Linked DNA regions of Homo sapiens: region 1 is linked to region 2. The links are contacts of gene promoters, found by promoter capture Hi-C in blood cells and fetal thymus (Javierre and others, 2016). All regions are on one chromosome and are shown on one strand. Each heading gives the region's core, a stretch centred on a gene start or on the middle of the fragment in contact. The rest is flanking DNA. Distances are from core to core; before and after follow the strand shown. Region 1 overlaps ZNF346 (zinc finger protein 346). Region 2 holds the start of RAB24 (RAB24, member RAS oncogene family).

Region 1 (6,447 bases), core at 2,148-4,647, 260 kb after region 2:
GTGAGGGCTGAGCCCTAGTCGTGACGAGATAAAGGGGGCTATTTCAGAAGTCACTGTACTGGGAATGAATTCATGGCAGTTACAGATTGTGGGGCAGTAGTAGCAGCACTGAAGTATTCAGCTTTGAAAGGCAAGTCCCTGTCTTGAGGAGAACAGGCAGCTTTTGAGGATTAAAGTGAGTAGGCCATAACCTGAGCATGTGAAAAAGACAAGGATTTAGCTTTCAACTTGGAACATGCAGTAATAAGGGCAGGTGGATGCTGGGATGGAAAAATCTAGTGGGAGAGGTAGGAGATAGAATGCTCTCATGGTATGCGTGGCCTGGAGGACTTTGGCACTCCTGAGTTATAATTATTAGTCAGGACAAAAGCTCAGCCTATAGAGAAAAACCTATAACCAAAGAAAGGGAGGTTAGGTGAGCATAATTCTGAGATTGCATTTCAGTGAAGCTGGGTCTACTTGGAGATTTTTAAGGGTTCTCAAAAGCAATTCAACTTCTTCAAGTCTGTGGCCTCAGTGAGGATCTCTGTGAGCCCCTGGCAGTAGTGCCCTGAGGACGGCAGGGGTCCCACTATAGCACTACTCAGGAAAACCAGTACCTTCCACCTTAGTGGACTGCTGCTTCAGCTTTAAGTTCTTTGCGTGGGTCTTCCCCAGGTAGTGCGACTGGGCCACGACAGGGGAGGAAAAGGTCATGTTACAGATGGGGCAGCACTGGTTCTTGTCTTTGCTTCTGCTGCTCTTCTGGTTGGAAGAAAGAACACAGGTCTGATCATACCACTGCCCCACCAGAAAATCTTCAATGGTTCCCCACTGCCCATAACAGAACAGGCATTTATGGCCCCCCTCACACATTAACCCCAACCTACTTTCTAGATTCTTCTCCAGCTACTTTGTCCCAGACTCTACTCACCATCCCCCACTTTATTCTCTGATGCTTCCTTGCTTTGCTTTGGCCATTCCTGCTGTCTAAAATGTGCTTCCTTCCTTTCCTGCTTGGCAGCGTGTCTGCTTAGCCTTCAAGACCCAATTTAAATATAAGCTTTTCCTCTGGGGGACTTTCTCTCAAAAAAAAAAAAACATCATTCAGTAAACAACTGTCAAGTCCCTTTGTGTATTCCAGGAAGAATTAACCCTGCTCCTCTTCTGTGCTCCCAGAGTACATTAAATAGACCTCTGTCATACCACTTGCCACCCTAAACTGACAGTGTCATAGCTTAGGAGACTTTTCTGTGAACTCAAGTGTGACATTGGAACACGGACTATTTGACTCATTTTTGTTTCTTATCCTTCACACCCAGCTGGAGTCTGGCACACAGTAGATGCTCAGAGTTTGCTGAACAAGTGGACCATTAGGTTTTTTTTTTTTAAGACAGGGTCTCACTCTGTTGCCCAGGCTGGAGTGCAGTGGCACGATCTCGGCTCACTGCAACCTCCACCTCCAGGGCTCAAGCAATTCTCCCACCCACCCCTGCAAGTAGCCAGACTACAGGAATATGCCACCACACCCGGCTAATTTTTGTATTTTTTATAGAGACGGGGTTTCACCATATTGCCTAGGGTGGTCTCGAATTCCCAAGCTCAAGCAATCCGCCTGCCTCAGCCACCTAAATTGCTAGGATTACAGGTATGAGCCACCGCACCCAGCCTCCCATTGCGTTCTACTTGTTGATTATGATTAGGCTAGGAAACCATGTATTTCAAGACTACATAAAGGGATCCCAGCATCTCTCTCAGAAAGCCTGATCTCTGAATAGGGTGCAAATATGTAAAATAACTTGCCCAGGGTCATAGAGTTTATCTTGCCTTTCTGAATTATAAATTGTGAGAAAAGGGCCAGGTGTGGTGGCTCATACCTGTAATCCTGGTACTTTGGGAGCCTGAGGTGGGAGGATCACTTGAGACCAGGAATTTGAGACCAGCCTGGGCAACAAAGCGAGACCCTGTCTCTACGAAAAATTTTTTAAAAAATCAGCCAGGCGGCTGGGCGCAGTGGCTCACACTTGTAATCCCAGCACTTTGGGAGGCTGAGGCAGGCAGATCACTTGAGATCAGAGGTTTGAGACCAGCCTGGCCAACCTGGTGAAACCCTATCTCTACTAAAAATACAAAAATTAGCTGGGTGTGGTGGCGCGTGCCTGTAGTCCCAGCTACTTCAGAGGCTGAGGCAGGGGAATCGCCTGAACCCAGGAGGTGGAGGTTGCAGTGAGCTGAGATCGTGCCACTGCACTCCAGTTAGCCAGGCGTGGTGGTGTGTGCCTGTAGTCCTAGCTACTTGGGAGGTTGAAGTGGGAGGATCACTTGAGCTTGGGAGGTTGAGGCTGCAGTGAGCCGTGACTGCACCACTGCACTCCAGCCTGGGTAACAGAGCCAGGTCCTGTCTCACAAATAGACAGATAGAGAAATAGAAAGGAGGGAAACCAGGGATAAATAAATAAATAATAAGGGAAACCAGGGGATGAGTCCAGTAAATTTTGAGAAGAGATAAACAAGGACCTTCCTGACCTGTGGCTACTATAATAGGAGGTAGCAGTCTATAGAGTAAACTCTTATTTATTGAGCATCTACTAGGAATTGAAATTTTACCTCACAATACCCTTAAGAAGTAGGCATTATCTCTACTTTATGGGGGAAGTTCACAGAGGTTAAGTGACTTGGCCAAACTCACCCGATCAGTAAGACACACAGCCAGCTTTGAGCCCTAGTCTGCTTAACTTCTCTTCCCATGATGAGATGGTACTCCTGAGGGATTGGGGGTTGCTTCAGCATAATGCTCATATTATTTCTGAGCCAAAAAGCACATGTGATCACCTCTCAATCACAGCAGACATTTGGAAAGGTGTTCCTTCTGCTTATTTATGCAAAACATTCAAGTGCTGAACTTAGTTCTTTTCCTTGGCCCTCAAGAAAGCAAGCAGCCTGGCTTCTTTCCATTTTCTCTTGTCTTGCTCTAACAAACCACTAGGCGGTAATATGTAATACCAGCTCCATTACTGAGTCCCTACTATGTGCCAGGCTCTGAATTGGGTGCTTTTTATAAATCTGCCCTCAATTTTAGTTCTAAAAAATCCTGAAAGGTAGTTGATATTACCATCCTCATTTTTATAGAGGAAGAAATCAAGGCTTTGTGAAGTAATAGACTTGCCCGAGTCACACAACAGGGCCAGGATTTGAAGCCAAGACAGTCTGACTTGTTCACCACACCAACCTGCTGGCTGGCTTCATCATGAAGCAAGTGGGCTCAATATGGCAGCTGTATTACCTGATCTGAGTCTAGCTTCTTCGTTTCCCCCTTTAATGTCTCCATTCCATGGATTGCTAGGTATCTCTTCACTTTGTTGGCATGTTTTTTGCTCTGCAAAAACCCAGGAGAAAGATCAAAGATAGCCAAATGCTACTTCATACTTAAGGCACTCAAAAACACTTATGAGATTTTCATCTGATTCATCCTCACAAAAAGTTTTGAGGAGGAGGTGAGGGAAGTTTGAGTTCCTGCTCTGTGCAAGGCATTTTACAGCTACCAAATTTAATCTTCACAATCTATGAGAAAATTATGACCATTTCTATTTTATGGATGAGGAAACTACATCTAAAAATGATGAAGTTTCTTGCTCAAGATGAGTAGCAGAGTTTTGATTTAAAGTCAGATCTATTTAAAGCCAAAGCTCATACTTTATGCTATGCCAAGCTGCAAGGGAAGATACACATATAATGATCCTGATTTGGATGGGGGAGATGAGACTCAAGGAGATTAAGTCAATCTTCAAGTCACAAGCCAACATGCATGGAGGCAACATCTGGGTGGCTAAGCAGCAATTACACTTCACCATGCAAGCCAGAGAGAATTAGTGGTTTGGCACCAGGTCTGAAAAGAAACGCAGTTCTAAAAGTATGATGGCATACCTGGTAATGTGCCAGCTTCTGGGACTCAGAAATAAGCAAGGCGCAGCAAACCTTACACTGGGTGTTGGTGAAGAGACATTGGTTCTTCTGGATCATGTGCTCCACTATAGAGGGGAAAACAAGAAATCATTGAGTTGACAAACACTACCTCAACAGCACTGCCTTTGAACCCTGCCTCAAACACAGGCACTGAATGATGGGATGCCATACTAGGACACTGGCAGACCTCAGCCAGCCTTTCCTACTGCCACCGTGACTCATGCTGTGTTCTCACACCACCTACACTATTACTTATTTTATAATTTTATGTATGCCAACTTTCTTTACTTAGGAACTTCTTTTAAAAAGGAATCTTTAGATCATAAACTTAAGCAGATACCAATAAAAATAAATATGATAAAAATGAGGCTTGGAGCATTCCCCAGGAAGAAGAGAACAGCAACTGTGCTGAGAGGTTTTAAGATATGGTAGCACCCAACTGAAACTTCTTCCCAGATAGAATCAGGAGGACTGAAAGACTCGAAAAAGGAATACTTTTCTCATTGTTCTTGATCTGACTTTGAAACATTTAAAATCACATAACAGGGTGGGGCGTGGTGGCTCACGCCTGTAATCCTAGCACTTTGGGAGGCCGAGGTGGGCAGATCACCTGAGATCAGGAGTTCGAGACCAGCCTGGCCAACATGGTGAAACCCTGTCTCTACTAAAAATACAAAAATTAGCCAGGTGTGGTGGCAGGCACCTATAATCCCAGCTACTCGGGAGGCTGAGGCAGGAGAATTGTTTGAACCCAGGAGGCAGAGGTTGTAGTGAGCTGAGGTTGTGCCACTAACTCCAACTTGGGTGACAGAGCTAGACTCTGTCTCTAAATAAATAAATAAAATAAAATCACATAACGTATTATATAAGTGCCACACTATATGAAACATGGTATTAACCTGTGCTTAAATTATTGTGCCTGGAGAACAGTCTTACCTTTTTGAGAAGAGAAGAGGAGGTAAAATCTCTCCCAAGGCATAAGTTCATTTTTGTTTGTTTTTTTTTTTTTTGAGAGGGAGTCTCGCTCTGTCACCCAGGCTGGAGTGCAGTGGCATGATGTCGGCTCACTGCAAGCTCCGCCTCCCAAGTTCACACCATTCTCCTGCCTCAGCCTCCCGAGTAGTTGGGATTACAGGCACCCACCACCACGCCCAACTAATTTTTTTGTATTTTTAGTAGAGACGGGGTTTCATCGTGTTAGCCAGGATGGTCTCGATCTCCTGACCTCGTGATCCACCCACCTTGGCCTTCCAAAGTGCTGGGATTACAGGCGTGAGCCACCGCGCCCGGCCAAGGCATGAGTTCTATCATGGCGCTGGCAATGTGAGGCAGAGGCAGAGGCAGAGTCTAAAACTGGGAGAGGAGGGCAGGCCCACATTTTTAATCTCCTGGTCTCAGCCAAAAAGTGGTCAAGGCTAGGCACAGTGGCTCACACCTGTAATCCCAGCATTTTGGGAGGCTGAGGTGGGAGGATGGGTTGAGCCCAGGAGTTTGAGACCAGCCTGGGCAAGATGGTGAGACTCTGTCTCTACATAGAAACAAACACACCAACAAACCAAAAACTAGCCGGGGGTGGTGGCACATGCCTGTGGTTCCAGCTTCATGGGAGGCTAAGGCTGAGACAGAGACAGAAGGATTGCTTGAGCTCAGGAGGTCAAGGCTATGGCAAGCCATGTTAGTGCCACTGTACTCCAGCCTGGATAACAGAGCAAGCCCCTGTCTTAAAAAAAAAAAAGTCGATGCCCTGGAAGAGGTTCTTGGTGGGGAGCTTTTAAGATGTCTCTCCTTAATCCACAAAATCTAAAGCTTACCTATGTCAGCCCTTTTAGGCAGAAGGGCTGTATTTCTGCCCCTAATGATCTCTTTTTATTTCTGCATTTTTCTTTTAAATGGTAAATTTTTGTGAAAGACCTTGCCTGTCTTAGCTATGCTCTGAAAAACCAAGAGAAATGACTCTATAAACAAAATTGGCCCAGAACTTTTAAAAGAGGGTCAGAGGTGGCCAGGCACGATTGGTAATGCCTGTAATCTTAGCACTTTGGGAGGCCAAGGTGGGTGGATCATCTGAGGTCAGGAGTTTGAGACCAGCCTGGCCAACATGGTAAAACCCCATCTCTACTAAAAATACAAAACTAGCCGGGTGTGGTGAAGCATGCCTGTAATCCCTGCTACTTGGGAGACAGAGGCAGGACAATCACTTGAACCTGGGAGGCAGAGGTTGCAGTGAGCCGAGATTGTGCCATTGCACTCCAGCCTGAGCAACAGCAAAACTCGGACACACACACACACACACACACACACACACACACACACAAGAAGAAGAAGAAAAAAGAAGAAAAAAAAGAGGGTCAGAGGCTTCTCACAATAAGAAACCCACATGGGGAAGGTAATACCCAGGGGTCAGAGTTCAGTCATCACTTCCTCACCTGGAGATTGTGGATTTTGTTTTGTTCAAGAGATGAGGTTTCAAGCATATTCAGAATCAGACTCCCAAACCCACAGCAA
Region 2 (6,227 bases), core at 1-2,500:
CCTGCCTCCGGCCACAAAAGCTGCCTTATGGCTCTCTAGCCACATGTATCTGAGGAGCTCTCTATCTCGGGGGGAGGGGAGAGGGGGAGGTGCAGAATCACAACAGGAGGTGTCTCACCATCAGCCGGGCGTGGTTGATGTTCCAGGTGAAGGTAGTCATGGTCTGATTCTGTGGGTCCACAATAGAGTCCTCCAGGACGTACACCGAGTGAGCAACATTGGCAGGAAATAGTCGCTCGGCCCAGCGTGGCATCCTGTTGGTCTTGGTCAGGAGTCGCCGGGACAGCAGTTTCTGGTCAGGGGTCACCTCCCGGTGTACTATGTCTTCCGTCAAGACATGTTTGCTGCAGGTGTCAGGGTGAAGGTGACCCTCAGAAGCTTGCCCCTAAGAGACTGCCCGAGGGGATTCCCATTTGGAGGCTCCGGGCCTAGAGAGGCCACGCCTTCCCGTAACCTTGCAGGGTGGTATGTGCTATGGTTCAAACCAGAGTTAAGGGCCCATCCCAGGGCAAATTCCCACTCCCGCCATCTGACTGACCTGGATTCCTGCCTTCTAGCAGGAATGGACCTCATGATTTATTGCACCCCAGGAAAGCGCCACGGGCAGAGAAATAGGATTTCCAACTCCAAGATCCCTCCCAACTCCCATACTGCCGCCTCTTCTTGTCTCACCACACTGAGAAAAGAATCTTACACTAAGGTCTCAAGTAAACCACCACCCAGGCCCAACCTCCCTTCAGGACCTTGCAGGCCTGGCCTGGCCGCTTCCCCGATAAGGTCTACCTAGGATTCGATATCGAGTCCTTCCTGGTCCCAGTACTTGGGGGTTACCCATAATTCGATCTCCAGATAGCGAGATGGCGCGGTTTTGCTCTTCCAAATACCACGTACCTATAGGGATTCGGGTACCGCTGCCAGAAGGCGGCGAACACTTGGTCCCAGGAACTCCGGAGCACGCTCTGGCCCAGGAAATACTTCACCATCGTCCCGGCCGAAGCGGGCTCAGCACCCGCGCAGCATCAGGGGTGCGGAGCCTGGGAGGCACGCGAGGGCCGGGCCGGGCCGGGGCTCGGCGCACACCCGCCGCCAGGCTCGTAGCTCAGTCACCACCGCACCGCGCCCAAGCAGCTGCCGCCGCCGCCGCCGCCGCCATGAGTTGTCCGGCCGCGCGCCACTTCCGGCGCAGCCACACAGTAGCCACCGCTTCCGGCGCCCGCGCCACGTGACCTTGCGGCCCCGCCCCCTCGCCCTCTAGCCCCCTCCCGCGGGAGTCGCGGCGCTGCGGGTAGGAGCCGGGTTGCGGGAGACCCCAGGTTCGGTTGGGATTCCCAGCCAGAACGGAGCTTAAGCCGGGCAGGCGAGCGAATGACGGAGTAGCGAGCTGCACGGCGGCGTGCTGCGCTGTTGAGGACGCTGTCCCGCGCGCTCCCAGGCCGCCCCGAGGCTTGGGGTCTTCGAAGGATAATCGGCGCCCGGGGCCGAACAGCGGGGGCACACGGGGCGCTGCCGAAGTGCAAGGCCACGGCCAGAGCTCGAGCCCGACGCGCTGTCTGGAGTCGTAGGTTGGCGCCGTTTGGGGTCGGGGTCTGAGGCTTGGGCGCTGCCTGGGCCGAGCGGAGATCGGGGTTTGCCTCCCGTCCCCGCTCAGGACCCTGACGTGGCTGAAGCGGCCCCGGGAGCATGAGCGGGCAGCGCGTGGACGTCAAGGTGGTGATGCTGGGCAAGGAGTACGTGGGCAAGACTAGCCTGGTGGAGCGCTACGTGCACGACCGCTTTCTGGTGGGGCCTTATCAGAACGTGAGTGCATCCGGAGGGGCCAGGCACGGTGGGCGGGGGAGTGGGGGGCCGGTAATCTGCACCTATGGCCCCGATCTCTTCCCTCTCGTTGCAGACCATCGGGGCCGCCTTCGTGGCCAAGGTGATGTCGGTCGGAGACCGGACTGTGACATTAGGTATTTGGGTAAGTCCCCCGGCCATCTATTCTTGGGAGACTCATTCCTGAGGAGGTGTAGGTCCTGCCTATTACTGGTTGATTTGTGGCCTCACAGACCCATTTCTCATAGACCCGTTTCCTTATCTGGAAAATAGCGGGGTCTGGAGAACGTGGCCTTAAGTTTGACTCAGGCCTTACTCTTTAGGACACAGCAGGCTCTGAGCGCTATGAGGCCATGAGTAGAATCTACTATCGGGGTGCCAAGGCTGCCATCGTCTGCTATGGTAAGGGGGGGGGGGGTTTGGGCTGTCTCACAAGAAAAGATGGGTGCCAGGCTAGCCAGAGAACAGCCCTTGACCACTTGGTTGTCTCCTGCATGCCGCACACCAAGACCTCACAGACAGCAGCAGCTTTGAGCGAGCAAAGTTCTGGGTGAAGGAACTGCGCAGCCTAGAGGAGGTAGGTGAACAGACCTCACTAGAACACTAGGGGCTGGGGTTTTGTTGGCCTGTGGAGGTGACCCTTGTCTTCTGCCTCAGGGCTGCCAAATCTACTTATGTGGCACCAAGAGTGACCTGCTGGAAGAAGACCGGAGGCGTCGACGTGTGGACTTCCACGACGTCCAGGACTATGCAGACAGTAGCTGCTCCTCAGCCCTTTGGGGGGTGGGGGTGTGTGGCTGTCTGGGTGGATCAAAGAAAATAGGGACTGCCTTGGCTGCCAGGGCAAGGTGCTCTAGGAGGTCTTCCTGGCCTCCTTGAACTGTGGGGTCCAGGAGACTCCCTGAACTGCTAGCCCTCCCTTTTGTCTGTTTATCTAATTCTCAGGTATGAGGCTTTAGTCACTTCTCTTTACAGATATCAAAGCTCAGCTCTTTGAAACATCCAGCAAGACAGGCCAGAGTGTGGGTGAGTGCTGTGCTGGAGCCTCACAGCAGGAACATGCAGGGGCACCAGAGGAAGCTGAATAGGGCACAGAGGGCTGGGTCACTGGGAGATCCCAGGGCTACTGGCATTGGGCCCTCGCTGATCATCATTTTTCCTGCCAGACGAGCTCTTCCAGAAAGTGGCAGAGGATTACGTCAGTGTGGCTGCCTTCCAGGTGATGACAGGTGTGTGCTTCCCCAGCCTTTATGGAGACTTACTCTAGGCCCACAGCATCTAGCCCCTTTCCTGAGTTACCTGATCCCAACAGAATGGTGCTGAGCTGCCACCTCTCTTTTTGACAGAGGACAAGGGCGTGGATCTGGGCCAGAAGCCAAACCCCTACTTCTACAGCTGTTGTCATCACTGAGTCAGCACTCACCTGGCCTGGGGGAATTAAAGGAATTCCCCGTAAGGGCTGGACCCAGCTCCTTTCTGGGCTTGGGTAGTCAAATGTCTGAGCTACCCCAGGTCCTCATGTCAGCAGAGTGGCGCCTGCCTGTGCTGGCCCATGGAACGGAGACAGCATTGGGCTGACTGTGGGCATGAGGAGGGATAAGGCTGATTTGGACCCCAGGCTTCTGCCCTGGACAGCACTTGTGTCTGCAGATTATTTAAGTGGCTTTTGATCTGTAAATAAAATCAGTGCACTGTGCATCACACCCAGCCCCTTTCCCTGCTGTGTGGATTAGGTGTCAAGACACCTAGTTCTTCCTGGGGCCACCCGGCTGGCCTCACTGCTTATATTAAGGCTCCTCCCAACTCTCATTTTCCTTTGGAAAACAAGACTTTTTTCCCCATGGTTACCGCTGAGATACTGGGGCTGTAGTAGTATAAAAGCTCACAGTTCCTTCTGAGTGCTGAAAAGAGTGCATGAGTTGCTTCGAAATAAAAGGGTCAAGCATTCCTACCTGAGACAGGTTGGTCTGACTAGCTCTACTGCATCTGTCATGTTTGGGCCCCTATGTCAGACCTGTGACTCAGGTCCTGAGCTTCCCAGTGACATCCTACAATGTGGTTTAATGGTAGGAAAGTCCTAAGTTCTGTAAGCCAGAAAGGTCTAATGGATCCAGATTTGGTTCCAATTCAGCTGCTAATTTAGAAAAGGGACTTAAATCCTCATCTTGAGTTTCTCATCTGTAAAATAAGGTGACTACTATGCAGCCCAAGGATTGTGAAGAAAGTGAAGAGTAACTCTAGTACTAAATGTTTTTCCCAATCTTCCCAAGCACTTTTTGCTGAAAGGGCAGGAAGTTCAGGACTAGGTCACAAAGGGAAGCAAACTCCCAAGTTTTCCCCAAAGAAGATCCAGATATTTCTGAGGAATCAGGTGTTAACTGTAAACAGGGCTGACACTTGCTGCTCAACCAGAAGGAAATTTATTGCAGCCCTTTCTGGTATGGAGGGTGTGGCCCCAGGCCAGGGGCTTTCCCTTAGTTTTATCCTTTGCCTCTGCTTTCCTGCCTTTATTTAGGCCTGGGCTGAGTCCTCTGCAGTGGCCAACACCTGCCTTGGAAAAATGTACAACTTAGCCAACATGGTCAGACTCACACTCAGAGAGTGCTTTGGTTCCACTTCCTTTTTAAAAACCAATTCCTCAAACTGCCCTTCCTTCATGAGTGATGGGGGCTTCCTGTGGAGGGAGACTGAAACTGAAACCAGCCACTCCCAACAGAGGGAGAAAGAGGCTTGGGCAGCCCTGTGGCTGCTGAGAGGAAACACACTATTCCCATGACGTGCTTGGAGGAAGGGCTTAGCTTCACAGTATCCCTGCGCCCCCCGCCCCCCACCTCGTACTATCTCTGGGGCTGGCTTCTGCTCTCACCCCAAACAATCCTCCCTCCTGTTAGACTACAACTCCCCACAGCCAATAAAACAAAACACAGGGCAAGGGCCATATATGAGTAAAGTTAAACTTTACTTTACAGTAAATTTTTTTTCTATATACAAAGAATTACAGTACATGTTTATGGGGACTCCTAACACAGGGCTCCCCTCTTTTTCACTAGGAGTTTCACTTACAGCTGACAATCTATGGGGGCGGGGGGGGGGGGGCGCGGCAAAAAAGCAATGATGGACCTTGGCTGATCCCCCCGACCCCTTTCTTAACAATATAGGTAGATGTCTATCGTCAGCTTGCCTCTTTGCCAAGACCTAGGAGGCGGCTCTGCCATGAGCTGCTGTGTGCTGCCCTCCCCACCTTCAGCACACTCATCTACACACACACAGGTAGCACCCACCTCGATGAGACCGCCTTGCTCTGGCCTGCCCCAACCCTGGAAGTTGAAAACATAGAACCATTTATTTCTGCTTCTACTCTCTGTGCCCATGTCTTGTCCACGAAACTTTGCTGAACTTCCAGGACCTTACACCTGAAGCCCCACAATAACCTGATGTTTTGAAAGCCATGGGAAAGCAGCTCTAGAGAAGGAACCACATAAGCAGAAACAGCGCATGTTAAACTCGAAACACTTCTTCCGAGGTTGTGGATTTCTAGTTTAATTCTTTCCACTTCCTTAGAAAATACTACCCTTAATCTTCATAAGCAGTAGAGGGGCTTCCATGAGTGGAAGAGGTAGAGAGGGGCAGAAGGGAGCTGAGGAAGACCCAACAACCAGAGCTCTCTAACAACCTGCTCCAGGCAGCGTGGACGGAGGCTATGGACAAGGTGGCCCCAGCCCTGAGAAACTCAATGGCCACCTTCACCTGGATATAGGATCTCTTCCACCTCTGGATTGCACTGGGCCACTCCAGGGTTGGGTGCAGGCTTCACTGAGGATCTTCCTTCTCCCCACTTTTAACAAAGCCTCAAACTTTTCTACATAAAATCTCCTCCCAAACAGGAACCCGGGTTTCTTGAGCTGCCAGTCCCTCAACCCTTGGCAGTGCTTATTTATACCGTGAAATTAGCACCATCATTACATTTTATTGTGTGTGTGTACAAAACAATGATCTATTCTTATTTCAATTTACACTATAGCAGCCTCTGGCCCTGTTGCACTGGCCCTAGGAAGCTCAGCTGAGAACTAACTGGCCATAGCCAATGACAGGCTCCCACAGCAACTACCAAGCAGTGACTTGGAATGTCTACACATGGAACTGCTCAAATGAAACTCAGCAAGAAAGGGGCTGGAGGCAGCTCCTTCTCTGCCATGATCTGAGAGAGGTTAGGACACTGGGCTCCTCTAACCTGGCTGATAAACCCCAAGAGGATGACAGTATCATTTAAAAAACCTTAGTAAAATCCACCTTATAGGGACTAAGGGTAAAACCTATCCAAGTTTCATGCTGTCCTCATTACTCCCTATGGGGGAATCTGTCAGGACTAAACTTTCTGCCATTCTGTTCTCATGAGGCAACATTAGAATTAC

What was found. Contacts are between HindIII fragments. The CHiCAGO score rates a contact against its expected background, and 5 or more counts as called.
Region 1: a fragment that was not itself captured here is called in contact with the fragment with the promoter of RAB24 in region 2 in 1 of 17 cell types (M1 macrophages); the score reaches 5.5 in M1 macrophages.

What each region holds. Positions count from the first base shown.
Region 1 is chr5:177,038,686-177,045,132 of GRCh38, reverse strand. It overlaps ZNF346 (zinc finger protein 346), which reads right to left. Exons shown (of 7, transcript NM_012279.4): 2 at 3,904-4,007; 3 at 3,263-3,355; 4 at 600-744. Among named protein-coding and RNA genes, the nearest start is that of ZNF346, 19 kb to the right of the region's middle. RefSeq lists a silencer at 6,394-6,443. The HindIII fragment of the contact is 4,706 bases long and covers 1,045-5,750 here.
Region 2 is chr5:177,298,742-177,304,968 of GRCh38, reverse strand. RAB24 (RAB24, member RAS oncogene family) reads left to right here and starts at 1,250. Exons shown (of 8, transcript NM_001031677.4): 1 at 1,250-1,797; 2 at 1,892-1,960; 3 at 2,139-2,217; 4 at 2,325-2,392; 5 at 2,473-2,572; 6 at 2,791-2,841; 7 at 2,982-3,044; 8 at 3,162-3,771. The coding sequence starts at 1,681. The coding sequence ends at 3,226. It overlaps PRELID1 (PRELI domain containing 1), which reads right to left and starts at 1,170. Exons shown (of 5, transcript NM_013237.4): 1 at 892-1,170; 2 at 119-344. The coding sequence starts at 983. NSD1 (nuclear receptor binding SET domain protein 1) reads right to left here. Exons shown (of 23, transcript NM_022455.5): 23 at 4,756-6,227. RefSeq lists enhancers at 40-109, 120-189, 340-399, 420-469, 580-679 and 4 more and silencers at 910-1,049, 1,160-1,239, 1,290-1,359, 4,389-4,582. The HindIII fragment of the contact is 8,255 bases long and covers 381-6,227 here.